2 separate regions of the Homo sapiens genome follow, and region 2 is linked to region 1. Evidence: promoter capture Hi-C in 16 types of primary human blood cells and fetal thymus (Javierre and others, 2016). All regions are on one chromosome and are shown on one strand. The core of a region is centred on a gene start or on the middle of the fragment in contact, and the rest is flanking DNA. Distances in the headings are between cores, read along the strand shown. Region 1 holds the start of RASSF8 (Ras association domain family member 8). Region 2 has its middle 130 kb from the start of LMNTD1.

Region 1 (6,008 bases), core at 1,889-4,388:
TGGATGGATGAGATGAAAAATGGAGGGGGAACAGTTTGAAAGTTTGAGTGACCAAGAGCTCAATTCTGAAGGAGTTTGAGATGTTGTCATTTATTGGCTGAAATGTGCCAGGCACATCTAATATATATTAGATGTTCTACTCACCATAGCATCCCTTTAAGTAGTGGTATCCCCATTTTCCAGAAATGCAACTGTAGATCACAGAGGCTGAAGTGGCATGGCCGAGCTCACTCACCTCGGGAGTGACAAAGTCACACGTGCAACCCAAGTCTGGCTGGCAGTGGGGTAAACATTCTTTCCACTATACAGAATACTTGGAAACTCTCTCTACACTTTGAATTTTTAAGTCTATTTAGGGTTAGAGCAAGTTAGCATCAAAGAAGAGTAAATAAACGTTATATTATTTTGTAATCCAAATCTTTAATTTATGATGCATGTTTTTCTATCCAACTCCCATTCCCACTCCACTTTTACTTGCAAAGAGTTTTGTAATGTTTTGAACACTAGCAAGATATCTAAGATCTTAATGTTTTATAATAAAGGAGCAAAGCCATTATGCCAGGAATTAACCATAAGAAAAAGACAACAATATCCCACGGCAAACAATATTTTTACTTCCAAGTCATTATATACATCAACATAAAACAGATCAATTAATGAGTCAGAAACCCTGAAGAACTAATCATTTCTCAAAACACAAGGCAGTCAGGTCAAAAACTGACGTAAGTCACCACGTATAGAAGCCTACAAGAGCCAAACACTGAAGATTCAGGTTAAAAGGTTGCAACCTTAAAAAAATAAATAAAAGGCAAAACAAATTATACAACCATGTCGAATTTTAAATCTGTAATTACCAAATATCTGAACCAAATGCCAAATTCAGGAAACATGCATCCTATAAACAACTTAAACACTCTCTGTTCTTTGTAACTGTTTTTTCCAGAAGCACACTGACACTTCTGCAAAGTGAAGTGCCTTTCCTGCCTGCACAGCCCCATGATTTGCTCCCTCTCAGGGCCCTCTAATGCACCCCTAAGCTACTAAAGCCCAGACATAAGATTTGATCAATAAACCTAGAAAGAACTCAGTGCATTACTGCCAATTGTGTCCATCACAGAAAGTACCACCTGGAGACTCTTGAGGAAAAAAATGAGGAAGGGGGAGATTTTTGAAAGGTTTTATCATCTGTATTACAAATTATATTTTGTTGTACTTGATCCTTGAATAGAATAATCATCAAACTATGTTCAGTCTTCTTCAAGTGGGGGATGGTCATGTGTAATTTTATGGTTTGGGGAGTGTGCCTCATAGAGATAAATAAAATTAAAAGTACCATTAGTATGCCCGCTAAAAGATAAAACTCACACAAACCACTTCCCCAAATGATAGTGCTGTCTCCTGCGTCCTGATTTTTGCGTCCACCCTGCACCTCTCCCTGCAGAAAGCTGGCTGGCATTCACTACCGCCTCACTCTGGCAAAGGACAGGATGTCGAAAACCCATTAAGAAAGCTTCTCATTTTCTGTTCCTTCATAACATGATGGCAACTCCTGGCAACTCCAAGATGAAAGGCAAAAAAGAAAATAAAAACTACCTGGGGCCCCCTACCAGAATGAGTGGTTAATCTAATGGAGAGAAAAGCAGAGATTTATACATATTTTAAAATGCTTCCTGGGGACAAAGCAGATCTAATGAATTGCTGAGCCACAATCTACTGGAAAATCCATAAATGTTCGTCCCTGCTGTCACAGGGCTAGAGGATTTTTTTTTTTAATGAAATGCTTTAATGCTAACCTGACAGGGCTAACCTGACAGGTTTAAGTCAGCTATGAGACGTGATTTGCATTCATTTCGCTTCTAAATCCCTAAAGATCAGCAACAATATTGACCCGCAATTATATATCCTACGTTGCACTGTTCAAGATGCCATTTGAGGCTGGGAAAGTAGTGGTTTAGCAACACCAGGCGGCTCTATGATGCTAAAATAACAACGCAACACTGGATTCCGAACCCAAGTACTCATCTTTTAAAACCCAGTGCCGCACCAGGACCCACATTCAAAGCTCGCGTCCCTTCAAGTTGAATCTTCCGGCTTTGTGCGATTTACCCTCTCAAACTTTCTAGTTTGCAAGTCAGAATTACTTTGAACGTCCCCTCTTCTGGACTCCCCTCCCCAAAGGGACTGGCGGCAAAGGAGAATAGAATGCAGATGGTTAATAGTTCAAATGAAATTTAAAAACCTATAAACCAATATTTTTTTAGAGGAGAAAAGCGTTCACCAAACCGCCACCCGGCAAGCGAGCATCCGATTTCCATCCGGAGGAAAAAATATTTTAAAAACCAGACATAAAATTCCCTTTGCAAGAAAAGTGGCCTCTAAACTCCCTTGCCAAGGACACTGGGAGGAAGCAGAAAAGCAAAGACCAAGCTCGTACTTTTCAGTCCGCGGCTTGTGTGCCGCGAGGAGAGGCGCAAAGGGTGACACACCAGGAAAGGTGAACGCAGAGGGAGCGGGAGCCCGCGGCGGGGCAGGGTGGGGGCGGAACGGACGAGGTACCCAAGGTGCGGAGAGAGGGGCAACCGGGCGGAGGGCAGCTCCGAGGCTGCAGGCGGGACGGGCGGGGTCCCCGGCGCAGCCCGGATCGCCGCCGCTAAGTAAAGTTAATACTTACTCAGTTTCGCAACTGCGCCGCCCCCGCAGGCCGCCCAGAGGGGCCGGCCGGGGCGCTGGGGACGCGGCGGCACCCGGAGCTCCGCGGCCGCCCAGCGCCCGTCCCCGCGCCGCACTCCCCGGCACTCCCCGGCGCTCCCCGCGCCGCGCGCCCCGCACCGGCTGGAGGCCCCGGCCCCCCGGCGTTCCCTCTCCGCGCACCTCCCGGCCCGCGCTAGGTGAGTGTGGACGCCACTGGCGGGGGTGCCGCGGTGCGCGAGCGCTCGGCCAGCGGCAGAGACGCCGCGGGAGCCGCCCCCAGCGCCAACGCCGCCGCGGGCGGGAAGGGCGAGGCTCGGCGAGGCTGGGCGAGGAGCTGGGCGGCAGACGCTGAGCGGGGCGCGGCGCGGGGCGCCGGACGAGCGCGGGCGTAGGAGGAGCGCGGGCGTAGGAGTCGGCGACCCGCTCGCTCCCGCGGCCGGTGCCTCTGGGCTGGGGGCCGGGCTGGGGGCCGGGCCGGGCCGGGCCGGGCCGGGCGGCCAGGCGGCTCCGCCCCTTCGCCGGGCAGCGGCTGAGCGCGCGAGAGGAGCGGCGCGGGGGCGCCCCCCTCGGCCGGGCGCTCGGGTTTCAGCCGCCGCTCCTCCGCGCCCCGCCCGCGCCTGGCCCGCTCGCCGGCGCCGGGAGAGACCTCGTAACGGAACTGGGACGCCAGCGCTGCATTGTGGGAGCTTTTAAAGCGGCGGGGAGCTCGGCGCGACCCTCGGGCCCACCGGGCCACGCTCGCCCGGCCCGCGACGCCCCCCCGCTGTCGCCTGGCCCGCGACGCACCGAGGCCTGAGGACCCGAAAGCCGGGCGCGGGGAGATGACCGGTGGCTCGTGACGGTCCCACGGGCAAAATCTTCCATCGCCCGGGGCTGAGACTTGTCAAACTGCCCTCTACGGTCACCCGGAAAGTAGGAGGCTTTTTCTGCAGAGGGGAAAAAAATCAAAAAGAGCCGTTCCATCCCCCCTCCAAGGACTGGGTTTGAATTGCTTTTCATCTGCAGTGGCTGTGATTCAGCGTCCCTCTTAGCAGCAGGCAATGACAGAGGCAGGAGAGGGGAAAAAAAAAAAGAAAGAAAGAAAAAACACAGCAAATGAATCAAACGGACGTGAGTAACAAAAGTTTAGAAAGAGCTGGGCTCGTATTCAGAAAAAACGCCTCATCCCCCCGCCCCGCTGCACTCCCAACCCCTTTAAAAATAGCAGATAATCAAGAAAGGAAACGGGTGCTTTCATATGGAAATACAGATGTGTATGTTGTTTTCAATATTCTACTGTTTTTTTGTGTGTGGCATGCAATTACTCAGGCACTGGGCAAAATTCAGCCTTTGGATTTTGTGGTCACACATACCCCAACTCCGCAACAGCTATTAATTTGCAGGGCGATGGGGTGCGGATAGTGGATGAGATACAAGAAAGCATTCCAATTAAAATGCCCCCCCCCACCCCGCCTTTTAATTTTCCAGACACTTGCTTTTATTTTTCTTTTTTTAAACATCATCAAAACAAGAATATTAAACTTGAAGCAGAATTTGTTACAGCGTATCTGACTCAGGACCTGATTTAAGGTTTGGGGTTTTTTGGCCCTTTGTTTCTTCCTCTTGTTTTTTGACCTTTAGTTACTCCACACCTCATTAGTTCCTTGACCTGCAGGTGGACTGAGAAGAGAGCCATGGTAAGACTCAAATTTGTCAAATCAACATTTGGAGAGGAGAAAGTTCACTGTGATTCAAATGCAAAACCAAAGGGAATATGATTTAAAAGTCAACCTGGAGGGCATGGATCCTCCCTTAACCCTACTTGACTCTTTTCAAAGGAGTTGCCTAGCCTTAAGGTGAATGTTTCCTAACCTCTCATTCCCTTCTCAGCCTTTCACTCCACTGAACAACATCAGCCATTGCTTAATTGCCAAATCTAATGGAAAAATTTAATTCCCATCTTGTGCCCTTTGTGGCATTTGCCAATGTTGACCTCTCCTTCTTAGAACTTTCTGCCTTTTGGCCGGGCGCGGTGGCTCATGCCTATAACCCCAGCACTTTGGGAGGCCAAGGCTGGCAGATTGCCTGAGGTTGGGAGTTCGAGACCAGCCTGACCAACATGGAGAAACCCCGTCTCTACTAAAAATACAAAATTAGCCGGGCATGGTGGCACATGCCTGCAATCCCAGCAACTGGGAGGCTGAGGCAGGAGAATCGCTTGAACCTGGGAGGCAGAGGTTGCAGTGAGCCGAGATCACGCCATTGCACCCCAGCCTGGGCAACAAGAGCGAAACTCCATCTCAAAAAAAAAAAAAAAAAAAAAAAAAAAACTTTCCTCCTTTCTTTGGCTGTGGTAGTGATCCCTCTTTTGTGTACTTCTTGAAGCAGGTAGCAGGCAAGAGTGTGGTTATCGTTGGACCAGGATTCAGGATCTGACTGAGTAGCTGACTCTTAATCCAGTTTGTGTTGATCACCAGGAGGATCTGGACCTCAGTATTACCACATCTAGAGGTGAGCAAGTTGACTGACTCTTGATAACTAACTCTTATATGATGAGCATTTATATCAGGACAGAACTTCCTGATTGGATAACAATACCTACTATTTAGGAAAAACCCTTCCTAAAAATCCAGGTATCCTCACCTCCAGTCTTACTGATGGCTGCCAAAGTCAGTGAATTTGCCTCCATTCAGTGCTGGATAAGTGCAGAAAAATCTTTACCCTACCTAGCCCATTTGGTTAATGCGTTCTTTCTTCAGAGTGTAGTACAATTTGTTTTAAGCTTTTTTTTTTTTTTGGTAGCTATAATCACATCCCTGTTAAGCCTTCCTGAGATCACACCAAATGTCCTTGATGGGAATTGTAAACAACCCTTACTTCTGGTTTCTAATGATATTCCAGGAAAGGAGCCTAACTAGAGTCAGTGAGTATTCATGCACTTCAAACCCTGTGACATAATAAGATTTGATTTTTAAGAAAACAACTTGAGAGGATGGATTCAGAAAAGAGGCAGATCCAAGGGAGAGTCTAAACTGGAGAGCAGTGGCAATGAACAGGAGGAGGCCATATCGAGAGATGAATTGATCATCTTATAGACCTGGAGGTCAGAAATCTAAAATCAAAGTGTGGGCTGTGTTCCTTCTGGAGGATCGAGGGGAGAATCCATTTCCTTGCCCTTTTCAGCCTCTAGATGCCACCTGCATTCCTTGGCTTATAGTCCCTTTCTCTATGTTTAAGGCCAACTGCATAGCATCTTCCCCCATTTCTTTGTAACTTCTGCTTCATGGTGATGGGGACATCTCTCTCTCTGATCGTAGGAATTGATTTAGATGCTTTTC
Region 2 (6,391 bases), core at 211-2,710, 280 kb after region 1:
AATTACTTTTGCACCAATCTAATAGAAGGGACCTTGGCCCTGAATTGAAATGCAGAGCAAAGCTTTAGTTCTCAGGCAGCAGAGTCAGCAAGAGCAAAGGAGGGCTGGTTCTCAAAGGCAAGGCAAGTACAAGAGGCCCATTGTCAGGATGGAGACATCACAGGGGAGTGAGAGGCAGAGTGTGGACCAGCATGCTGGGGCCTTGCACCCTGATGGAGGGCAGGCAGCGAGATGTTTACCAACATAACAACAAGCCATGGACCATCTCCAAGGACATTTAGCATTACATTTTTCCTGAGTGTGACGAGATCAAGGGTCCCAAGTCCTTTAAATACTCTCTATCTGGGAAAGGTAGTACTGAACATCTATGTGGGAAGATCATCAGAACCAGACAGAGGAAGAGGGGAAGACAAGAAAAGGCAAAATGGGGTTCACTAATTGCCAAGTGCAGCATCTCCTCCTTCAGTTCCTGAGGGTTTGGGAGTTCTGAGAATGGAAGTGCAGAGAGGCCAATCCTGGAGTCACAGGAGGTTTCCACCCACTCACTCAGTGGGTTATGTATATGGAGTAAATGTAAAATATTGCATTGACACATGTCACCGTCTTCTGCTCCCCAATCTCAGTTCTGCTGGAGAACAGGTGCTGGGGGTGGGTAGGATTCCTCCTGGGACAAGGGCTTGGAGACTGTGGGACTTGGGCACAGAGCTCCATGTCACCTGACATGATGGAGGCAAATGCCAATAGGTGTTTTATCCCTAAAGGGAGAGGAAACGAAGGGACTTGACAAGGCTGTCATCCTTTCTCATCAAGTAGAATGTCTTTTACAATGAGGTCAGCAGTCTATTTATTTTCCAGTTAATGAAACGTTTGGGGTGGGGAGGAAGGAAGCTGTGCTTTGTAAAATTTCGGTGTTGGGGTTCACAGTCCTGCATATTTTTTGAACCCACATAAAAACACATCTGATTTGAAGTAGGCTGGTGTTGAAATATGATGTTGTGAACCACACCACCACACACGAAAACCTTGTGGAATAAAAGGCCTTGTAAAATTCCTGTTAAAATACTATGTTTTGTACAAGGGCATCTTATAGAACGTTTCAAATGACTGGAGGGGAATTACAGAGATTAATCATCTTATAAGCACCAATTAATGTGACTGTATGTTATTGGTGTCTCACTGGACAATCAATTTTTAAAAAGAAATAAAAATTTCTGGGAGCTACATTGCTTTGCTTCAGCTAGTGACTGTTTATTATTCCTTGGCTGAACTACTTGCTGATTTATATCCTTAAAACTGAATCCTTACAATTGTTTCCTTTATTTGGAAATCCAGTTGTAGATTTAATACTCTGCAGTCAGTTTTCTTAAAGGGAAGATCTAGAAACAAAGAAATAATAGAATTTTCCAGAATCGACTCTGTAGATTAAGTTCTAAGTGTACATTCTTTGGGCATCTACTTCCAGGTCTCCTTTCACCCCCAGGCTTCCCCTGTTACTCCAAAGTCCTGCACTGAGGTCACACTTTTTGCTACCCTTTTAAGGTAGATAATCCTGGGGTGTTACTATCTTTTTTACTCTCTTCATCTGTTTTCTCTGGACCATCTACTCAACAGCCATTGCTTCAGCTAACATCGCTAAACTGATTACTCCAAATTTATAGTTTTACCTCAGACTCTCTCTAAAGCTCTCAACTGCCTTCTTGATACCTTCCCTGAGAAGTGTCATTGGCACTGGAAATTCAACATGCCAAGACCAGACTGGTCATCATCTATTTCTCTTTTATTCCCTATTTCAGGAAATGACATCACCACCAATTGGCTGACCAGGCCAGAACTTTGTGAATTGTTTCAGACTTTGCTGTCCCTACAAAATTACCTTCCACAACAAGCAATTTTTTATAGTCCACAGTGAGGGTCTCATAAGAGGTCCTGCAAATTCCCTCCTGCCAAGTGTGGCCCCTGATCCTCCTCACACTAAAGCACCAGTGTTCTTGCAGTGCTAAAGCACTCTCTGGGTCATAGTGTCTTAGAGAAAGACCAAAGTGAAACCTTCCCCCACCTCATTTTCTCTTCTTCTTATCAAGATATGAGCTTATGAGGACAGAGGGACTTCTGAGGATAGCTACCAAACTGCATGCATAATCATTCCTCTCTTCTAACTGCAAATGTGTTTCTTGATCAAGCTGATCATTCTGACTCTTTAAAAGATGTTTTAGGCTGTCGCTTTCTCACACATGTTCAGAATGTCTGAACCACTTTGGGTTCAGGCTAGGATGTCAATCTTGGATGTAGATAAATGACAGGTGTACTTTGAGGCTCTAGGCAGCACCTGGATATCCTTGTTTACCAGGTAGGTAGCTATGATTCAGGGACTGGTTGGAAAATGATGTTTACCTGTCAAATAACAGCAGTTCAAGTAGATTTCCTCATACCAACAACGCTTTGACATCTCACATCAAAAACTCAGAAAGAGGCTCCTTTTCCAAGATGCCTGGAAGTACAGCTCTTTGCTAAGCGAAGTCATTTTAGATGCAGTTCTTTAGCGAGTTCTGCCAGAGCTCTGCCCACTAGAAGAAAGGATTATGAACACTTACTTTGTATGATGTGGTCTTGAGGCAGCAGTAATTTATCCCTAAGGCTCTGTTGAACAAGGGCTGTGTCACCCACTAAATAGGGACATGTGAAAACGTCTATTGCTCATATTGTCTGGTGATTTCACTTTGAGTCGTTGCTGCATTTCAACCAACTTTCAAGTGACTTTTTTGTTCTTCAATAACTACCCTAAATGTTACACTATTATCATAAAACAAAAGACCTGAGAATCCTTTCTGTCATTTTTGTATGAAACTAATTTAAGCTTTTCAGAAATTTGTGGCCCTTTCGTATTAACAAATACATATCATCTTCAATGCCTCAGTCATTTCACAGCCATATATTGAAATATTCAACTTAAGATATTTCTAATTAAATGAATGAAAAACTATGGATACAACTAACTAAAAATGGCTTTTCTCTGACAACTTTACTTGAATCACCATACTTTTAAACAAAGGCCATTTCATTTTTCCTCCCTGCTTCTTGTATCAAGTTTAAGAATCAATGCCAGCATCTTTTTCTTACCTTTGACCATTTCCTCCTCTTTAACTCAATATCTCTTCCTTTTGAAGTCCATGATGTCTGATTATATGACACCGCCCCACATCCTATCTCTGCCTCTGTTGGTCCTTTATCATCTCCATGTTTTTGAAGAACAAGAAGGCCATGTGCTCAGAGAATAGAGAGTGGATTATGCCGGGTAAGTTGGAGATGTTGGAGGGCTAAATCATAAGGACCTGGTGGGCTGTGTTGAGAACTTTGGTCCTTATTTTAAAAGCAGTCAGAAACCTTTTAAGGTTCTTAAAAGGGTAAAATGATACCTGATATGGTTTTTATTTTTTTGGAGACAGGGTTTCACTCTGTCTCCCAAACTGGAGTGCAGTGGTGCGATCTCAGTTCACTGCAACCTCCACCTGCCAGACTCCAGCAATCCTCCCAACTCAGCCTCCTGAGTAGCTGGGACCACAGGCACATGCCACCACACCTGGCTAATATTTGTATTTTTGGTAAAGATAGGGTTTCGCCATGTTGCCCAGGCTGGTCCTGAACTCCTGGACTCAAGTGATCCACCTGCCTCCGCCTTCTAGAATGCTGGGATTACAGGCATGCACCACTGTGCCCAGCCAAACTGATGTGATTTTTAAAAGACCACTCTAATTGTAACACAAAGTATGGATTGAGTCAGGTAGGAATGGATATGAGGGAGCAATTAGAGTTCAAGGCCGTAAACAGCTAGAGGATGACAGTGACTTTGACAAAGGTAGTAGCAGCAAAGGTGAGCAAAGTGTTCGGAGAAAAAATGGGCAGAAGTTGCAGATTATTTAGATGGGGTTCAACAAAGAGAAAGAAGAATCTAGGATGACTCCAGTGTTTCTGCAAGGAGCAACAGAGGGTGTGGTGGTGTCGTTGCCTAAGATGGACAACACAAGAATGGAGCAGCTTCTCCTGGGAGTGAGGGCTAGCTCAGATTTCCTCCCCATGAACTCTCCCAACACCTGCCTGGCAAGTTCTAACTGCTGCTACTGTTCCCAGACAGGTAAGTGTCACCATGGAAGATAATGCAGTAACTGGCTGCACTTCACATACATCATGTCCAATGCCCGCTGCTCCTCCAGGCTCTTTGGAAACGCTTTTATTGATTTCAAATTAAATCTTATTCTATTTTTTATGTTGTGTTTTTAAAATGTTTTCACTCTTCCCATACTTCCAGTCCTATCTTTCCTTCTCAGTTTTAACCAACCACTTTGCCTCTTAGTTTACTGAAAATAATAATAATAATAATAATAGAGGCCAAATGATGTGAATTTCTCAAATTCTCTTATCCCTACTTTAAAATTTTTTGGAATCTTCCATCATTCTCTTTTCTTTCCTGTGAGAGATGCGTCCTTTTCTGCCTTTTAAGCCACATTCTCTACCTGTGTTTCTGATACTGCTGTATTCCATTTTTCCAGCACATTGTTTCAGAGACCATCCCCAATTTCATATCTCATATTGAGGCAAAATAGTTTTATTCAGAACCTAGTATTAATATACTACATGTAGAAAATTTGAAACGTACAGAAAGGAGCAAAGATGAAAAAATCACCTATAATCTCATAGAGAAAATCATTTTTAATTTCTAATTATTAAAAAATTTCTCTTTCCATTGGTTCCCTGTCTCCAGCCTGAAAACATGTTTAGGTCTTCTCTTTTCTGAAGAAGACTCCCCTCAGTTTTTCTTTCCTTTCAAGCTACGAGGAGAGCTCCTTCACAGCCCCCTACTCTCCTAGCACTTTACCTAGAGAGCTTTAAGATGCTTCTGGAGTGACAAAGACTGCTCCAGGCTCTGGAGTCTGAGCTATGACAATGAGCAAGACACAGGTGAAACTATACCTGTATCTCCAGGACCTGTCCTGTTTCCTCACTGCTCCAGCTGGTTCCTTCTGGATCTGGGATTTTGCCTCATATGTGTATGTGACTGTCCCCGGCCATTACCAGCCCGCTGTGTTCCCACTCCCTGTCTGCCACATCCAATCCATTCTCATAGCTTCATTTATATTTCTGTATGGGCGATTTCAAGTTGATATCACTAGCCAAGACCTCTCACTGGAAGCCAGAAAAACATTTCCAACTGCACTCTGAATGCCTCAACAGGGTGTCTCACCAGGAAACTCAACACATCTAAAACTAACTTCATTATCTATTCTGCCAAACCTATTTCTCCTCTTGTATTTCCTGTTTCCATTAGTGGTACTATATATTTTTTTCAACCAAAGTAGAAAATGTGGCGTCATCTTTGACTCTGCATTTTCCTCAATTCAAATCAAATGCTATAATACTTTCTTAATATCATATTAATTACTTATTTGTTTCAGGCACATTGCTAAGTATACATGAGGTACATTTTTGCAATTGATTTTTCAACTACATGCTGCGTTATTCTTATTTTACAGATTAAAAAACAGAAACTTTGAGGTTCACAGCTAAGTGACAAGGTCAGTATTTGACTCAAGCCCGTTTGTTTTCAAAGCTAGTGTCTTGATATGTCTTTTCAATTTATCCTCTCCTCTCTGTTTCCATTGCTGGTGCCCTAGTTCTGGTCACTGTGGTAGAAGCTCTGTCAGCAATCCCCAGTTAGTCAAGTCACCTTATTAACTATACTCTCCCATCCTCTTTCACACTGGTCAGTGAAGTCTGGTAGGGAGTGATACGTTGGGTTTTCCTGGTTCCATCAATTTATCTGTGAGTTTGCAAAGAAACACTTGTATTTTGTTTAGAAACTAGTCTATGCAGTTGTGCTTATTATGTTACAAAATTTAATTAAGTACTATGTAAACCAATGCATATGAATGTAAATGACAGCTCTTCCTATGAAAATTAAATGGAAGACTTTGGAGAGACTTGAAGAGAGTGAGCAGCTTAAAATATTATAATCCAACCAAGTATTGGGAAAGAGAAACCAAAAATGGTTGTGAAAAACTGTGTAAAAATGTCTGGAAGATTCTGCACTCAGATTGCCTTTGGCTGCAATTTAACAAAACAGAAACAAAAATGTGAATGTAGCTTATACAAGAAAAATGGTAGAAAACTCTAATTAGCAGACCTGTATTCAAAGTAAGAGTCTCTGCATTCTGTCATACAATTACTGGATGAATGTGCCCACATATGTCTTAGGTGAAAGTATAATGTGTAAGAGAAGTGTGTATCATTTTATTCCCTGCTTTAACAATTTTTACAAATGACTGACCACATTCAGTTCCCAATTTCATTTATCAAGAGACCTTCTACCTTATCTCCCATTATCTTCCAGACAGTAACA

Evidence for each region. The method cuts DNA at HindIII sites, captures the fragments that hold promoters and counts their contacts. A CHiCAGO score of 5 or more calls a contact.
Region 2: a fragment that was not itself captured here is called in contact with the fragment with the promoter of RASSF8 in region 1 in 1 of 17 cell types (endothelial precursors); the score reaches 5.6 in endothelial precursors.

Annotation. Positions count from the first base shown.
Region 1 is chr12:25,955,812-25,961,819 of GRCh38, reverse strand. It overlaps RASSF8 (Ras association domain family member 8), which reads right to left and starts at 3,138. Exons shown (of 6, transcript NM_001394098.1): 1 at 2,672-3,138. RASSF8-AS1 (RASSF8 antisense RNA 1) reads left to right here and starts at 2,378. Exons shown (of 4, transcript NR_038228.1): 1 at 2,378-2,494; 2 at 5,056-5,181; 3 at 5,473-5,593. RefSeq lists silencers at 2,527-2,576, 2,717-2,766, 2,837-2,936, 3,037-3,526. The HindIII fragment of the contact is 3,942 bases long and covers 1,513-5,454 here.
Region 2 is chr12:25,678,025-25,684,415 of GRCh38, reverse strand. No RefSeq gene overlaps it. Among named protein-coding and RNA genes, the nearest start is that of LMNTD1, 130 kb to the right of the region's middle. The HindIII fragment of the contact is 2,792 bases long and covers 65-2,856 here.